Linked DNA regions of Homo sapiens: region 2 is linked to region 1. Evidence: promoter capture Hi-C in 16 types of primary human blood cells and fetal thymus (Javierre and others, 2016). All regions are on one chromosome and are shown on one strand. The core of a region is centred on a gene start or on the middle of the fragment in contact, and the rest is flanking DNA. Distances in the headings are between cores, read along the strand shown.

Region 1 (2,700 bases), core at 26-2,525:
GAAAATTCTTTTTCTTTCTTGAGACAAGGTTCACTGTGTCACCCAGGCTAGAGTGTAGTGGCACAATCACGGCTCACTGCAGCCTCAACCTCCCAGGCTCAGGTGATTCTCCCACCTTAGCCTCCCAAGTAGCTGGGACTACAGGCACCTGTGACCACGCCTGGCTAATGTTTGTACTTTTTGTAGAGATGGGGTTTCACCATGTTGGCCAGGCTGGTCTCGAACTCCTGGCCTCAAGCCATCCTCCCGCCTTGGCCTCCCAAAGTGCTGGGATTACAGGCATGAGCCATCGCGCCCGGCCAGAAAATTACATCATTAGGCTTGTACATGGAGGAGTTAGTAATGCCTGAAATTTTTCCTCTTTGTAGAATTCAGGGTCAATCCTGTTGATCCTGTGTTTTTTTAAGGACCAAATCACCATCGTCTCCTGAGGATAACTCGACAGACACAATTAATTCATTAATGTAGATATTATCTTTCTTTTGATGGTCACAGGAGAAGTGCCTTGAATTGAAGCTTTATCTCTTCCATTGTCACCATCACTAGGCAGGTGAGGCTGACAGGACCGCGTGGCTTAAGGCAACGCCTCGGGAGGGAGCAAAAATGCATCCACTGTGGAGATGAGGTTTCGGTTGCCTCCATTCTTTAAATAGCGCAAACCCTCACAATGTCAAAAGAATCATATTTGAATTCGAACTGCAAGTAAGGAAATCGAAGTATACTAGAATTGATTTCCAGCCTGAAGGCGGATGCTGAATTCAGACCAGCAGTGACACTCCAGGATTTCCACGGTAGTTCATTAAAGGAGGAGAATCTGGGACTAAACAGACAGAGTCTACACCCGCTTATCCTGCACCAAAAAACGCCGAGATGTTCATCGGCATCGCGTTAGTCACATTAGCAGCAGCAATCGCATTATCAAAAACTGCAACACGCATGTAAATAATAGCTACTTTTCCACCACGTGTCGTCGGCCGGCAGTGGATGCCCCCTGTAGGATCCCTATAAGATGCCTTACAGTTCCCCACGGACATCTGCCCAGGCGACTGGGAGTCCCAGGCCCCACCCCACCCTCCAAACCCCTTCTTTGGCGTTCAATACCCCGCGCTCACCGCGGTCTCTTGCTGCCCCCTGCCAGGCCCCTAGCGTCGGGCTGCGAAGGGCTGAAGTACCGCCACGAGGGGGCGCAGGACCAACGACATCACCTCTGCGCGCGACCCGAGGCCGGAAGTTAGTCTTTTCCACTTCCGCTCCTCCTAGCCGCTCCGGACCCCAGAGGCGGAAGTAAAAGCGAACTACAGTGGATGGGTGCAGTTCAGGGTGAGATTGGGAAGGTGGTGAGGCTGTGCTTTCCTTTCTTTTTGTTAAGAAGTGGGTGTGGGTGACTGCTGTACAGTGCAGCCCTTTGCAGATTTGTCTTTGGAGGAGGAAGAGGGATGGAAAGAGCCTTCGGTGTGGAATTACCTTGGTTTTGAGTTAAGAAAGACCCACCTGGGTTCGAACCCTAATGCTTCAGCTAGCGAAGGCAGGCTAGTATGGGAGCTCGGCGCTGTTTCAGATTTTGTAATTTTAAGGCTTATGCCTACCTTTTAAATTGTTGTGGGGAGTAAAGCGAGACAATATATATGAAGCACTTAGCTTTGGTACAAAACGTATTCGTGATTCCGCTACCTTTTCCCATCATATGTAGGCATGTACTTGCCGTTTTCTTTTCTGTATGTCTGAGAAATGTTGTTTGCAAGAGGTAATGCATCTCACGAGAACATAATGCAACGAGAACGTTAGCTGGGATCGATCTCTTATTTTGTATTAGGAAGGCCTGAAATATTTTGCCTTTTTTTTGTGTGTGTGTGTCATTTCCAGAGATAGCTGTTCTCCAGCCTTTCTGGAGGGATGCAGAGCCTTTCCTTAGGACAAACAAGGTGAGAAATGCATGTAAAGATCTCCAAACTTAGCTTGCTGTATCAAAAGAAGACCAGCTGGAATGTGGTATTTTAGGGCCAGTGATTAGTTATTTCCATTAACAGCCTTTTTAACAGGCCAGTTGTGGGGCAGAGGCGAACGTAAATCTTTTTTTAGACCCCTCATACTACAAGCATAGAAATTTTCAGTGTTTGTTAAGTTTGAACATTAGCCCTTTGGATAATGGTTTTGGTTAATTAAAAAGTCAATTTGAGAAATAGATCGAAGTCAATTTTTGAATAGGTACCATTTTTGAAATTTGTACGTGAGGAAAGTTGCTAACTTTCTTGTATTAGGCTATTTAGATGTTCATTTACCCTACTAGATATTATGAGTATTTTGAATGGAGATCCGTTGCTAAGAGTAAAGCATCATGGAGAATTTTGAAGTGTGACTTTTTTGGTACTAGAAACCGAAAAATAGATAAAGATAATTTGTATTTTCCATTGTTTTTCACACCAAAGGCCAGTTTTACTTGTTTAAATTTTTTCATCTGACTGCAAAGTAACACATATTCATTAAATAAAGTCCCAGTATTTCAGAAGTAGTACATAGCCTCTAATAATCTTTCAGAAATAAGTGTCATTCCACTTTCCCCCTCTGTATATATTAACGTCCCCCTCCCCGCCTTTAATATACATGGCATTATCCATACTGTTAAGCAGTTTGTCATGTAGAATATCTGACATCTTTTGATTGCAGTAGATCGGCCTTTATTTTTGGCACCTTTATAGTATA
Region 2 (2,700 bases), core at 41-2,540, 1.3 Mb before region 1:
GTGTGTACCAGATTTAGAGACAGTGCAGAGAAAGTTGTGGCATTGTTATTATTTTGCAGGGAGGTGGGGGAAGCATGAGGAGCTCTTGCCATTTTTCTGAAGCATGGAGGGATCTGAAAGTGACTGATCTCTGAAGAGGACTTCGTTTTCCCAATAGTCACTTACTTTCTTTGCTTATAGAAGTCCTTCTAGAAGAGTTCAGAGCCCTAATGCAAAGAGTGTTTCCAAACTTGGATTCCAAAGTTACTATCATTCCTTTTTTACTTTAATTATGCTTGAGGTATAGTCTTCCTTCCCCTCTTATCATTGAACTTCTTCAGTGGGCCTTTACTGTTAAAACTGATGCATGCAAGGAATTTTCCTTGATTTGATGATTTGATGCAGATTTGGATATATCCTTAACATTTTATATAACAAGGCTAGAACCAGAGCCTTCTTGCAAATAGGGGTTAACTAATAACTTAGTAAATTAAGCGGACATGCTTAGACTATCTGCTGCCATGACAATGGAGAGACCAGGTTGAAAACCTGTAACCTGGACACTGCAGTAGAGGTAAGATCTTTTCTAGATCATTGGTTCACTTCCTCTATGCATCAGCTGTGAAAATGTGGCCTCAGATACTATCTCCTGGCATGCACTTTTCATTATAATTATGCATGGTCCATGCCTCAGTCCCAGTTGGAAACACACCTGTGATTTGCTTTTAAAAATAAGATGAATTCAAAGATTAAATGAAATCAGTCATTGTAATAGGAAACACTGCATAGAAAAAATACGTTTTAAATATATTCTGGATCTCTCTTTTGATTCATTGGTAGAATTTTTACATGTTAGTGACTTCATGAAGATTTATAACTGTTTAGCAGATACATGAGCTACTTCAATTTTCATATAATTTTTTTTAATTTTAAAATAATAATGGCATAGTTCTGCATGATAGAAAACCAGCTTTTGTTTTTAAGGAAATCTCACAATATTCTTTCATTATGAAAACATGCCATTTTTCAGTAAAGTCACGCAAAAGGATGTTTTCCTTCATGTGATTTTTTAATAACTAAGTATAATTTATGAAATATATAGACAATTACTGGTAGTTGCTAAGAAACTCTTCTGAAAGCCATAAGCCTGTATTCTTGCTAAGCACATAACAGGTGTTCCCACTCCCTGTGTCCTTTGTATACACATTCATTCTGTATTCAAATCACAGAAGCAAGAGGCAAGATAGGGTCTGTTACCTCACTGCTAATTTCCCTAGCAAATAAACCAGCAGCTGCTGGTCCAAGTTACCACTGAGAACAGGGCACTGCATGCATGGGACAGGATGCTTTCATGGAGCCCTTCGGTGACACACTTGGGGTCTTTCAGTGCAAAATATACCTCCTTCTCTTCGGTAAGGCCCTGTGTGAATTGTGTTTTAGCTGTTTGTTAGGTTTTTTTTTTTTAATTGTGGACATAAGGTAAATATTTGCTTTAGGCTGTAGATGCATTCAGATAATTGAAGAGCAGGTCAGAACCTTTTAACAATAACACACTGTTACAGCAAAGAAGCAGGAACATTTAAGAGAAATGAGTTTCAATAAATAGATTGTTATTGTTTTCTTGGAACAACAATTATTGTCATAGCACTCATTAAGATAATTCAGATATTTTTAAAAGATAATGAATTTCTTCTTTTAGAGTTTACATATAGGTTCAATAGTCTTTAATGCATTTATTTCAGCAAATATTCTAATAGGCCATGAAATTGTGACCACTTAGAGTGAAACTACAAATAATTTACGAAAATTGTTTTCTTTTTAATTAAAGATATTGTTGCAAACTGTTTACTGCTTCGTTTTAAGTTATCTGTCTCATCTTATGAAATATGGAAGAAAGGTAAGATTCCAAACTAACAAAAAAATTTCCTACACAAAAGGGAGAACGTATTTGAAAAGATTGTTACTCCAAAATGCCTTTAGCTTTTCTCTTTGCCCAATGGCTAGTCCTATTAAGAATTTTTTTCTACCTTAATATTTTCCCTCATTCTCCTCTTTATCTTTTGAGTTTAAAGGAGTCTCTTTCCAGCATTCCAACTGCTGTCTGTCAACATTATTTTCACCAGATGTTCTCATTTCCATTCTTCCTATTTATCAGTTTTAAAAGTCAAATCAATTTCTTGTTTTGTTTATATTCAACAGATAGGAGTTCAATTAAGGCTACATTTTTTAAAAATTAAGAACAGCTTAGCAAAATAAGCAATTTAACTTTTAGGCTTCTTCAGCTATTTAGAGCTTTACTTTCACTCCTATATTTTGTTAAAGTTTGCATTGTAAATGTTATTATTCAAATTCATACCTACTGTTGTACCTATCTCACACATTTGAAATGTACAGTTTGTAAATTTTTTTAAGTCTTTGAGTTTCCCAGAGTTGTGATTGTTCCAGTTATCACAGTATTTATGTTATCAAATTTAAGCCTATAATAGATTTTTGTTTTCTAAAATTTTTTGAAAAAGTAAATAATTATTATAACTGTCACTACCTTTGTGCATTTGTCTTCCTTTTGAAAGTATCCTGGGTCATCATCCCACTTATTTTTATATTTAAAACAGTAGGACTACTATCATTTTATAAGTGTTGTTTTTGAAACTGGCGTTAAGAAGAACTTAGAGACAATTTAGTTAAGGAATTCAACTAAAATAAAACAAATGTACATTAGGA

Evidence for each region. Contacts are between HindIII fragments. The CHiCAGO score rates a contact against its expected background, and 5 or more counts as called.
Region 2: a contact is called between the fragment with the promoter of HEPACAM2 here and the fragment with the promoter of MTERF1 in region 1, in 4 of 17 cell types (total CD4 T cells, naive CD8 T cells, fetal thymus and 1 more). The highest score is 7.5, in total CD4 T cells.

Annotation. Positions count from the first base shown.
Region 1 is chr7:91,879,277-91,881,976 of GRCh38, reverse strand. It overlaps MTERF1 (mitochondrial transcription termination factor 1), which reads left to right and starts at 1,275. Exons shown (of 3, transcript NM_006980.5): 1 at 1,275-1,320; 2 at 1,864-1,922. The coding sequence starts at 1,894. LOC112267986 (a long non-coding RNA gene) reads right to left here and starts at 1,175. Exons shown (of 2, transcript XR_002956514.2): 1 at 1,113-1,175. The HindIII fragment of the contact is 3,297 bases long and covers 519-2,700 here.
Region 2 is chr7:93,225,059-93,227,758 of GRCh38, reverse strand. It overlaps HEPACAM2 (HEPACAM family member 2), which reads left to right and starts at 1,290. Exons shown (of 10, transcript NM_001039372.4): 1 at 1,290-1,391. The coding sequence starts at 1,313. The HindIII fragment of the contact is 7,149 bases long and covers 1-2,700 here.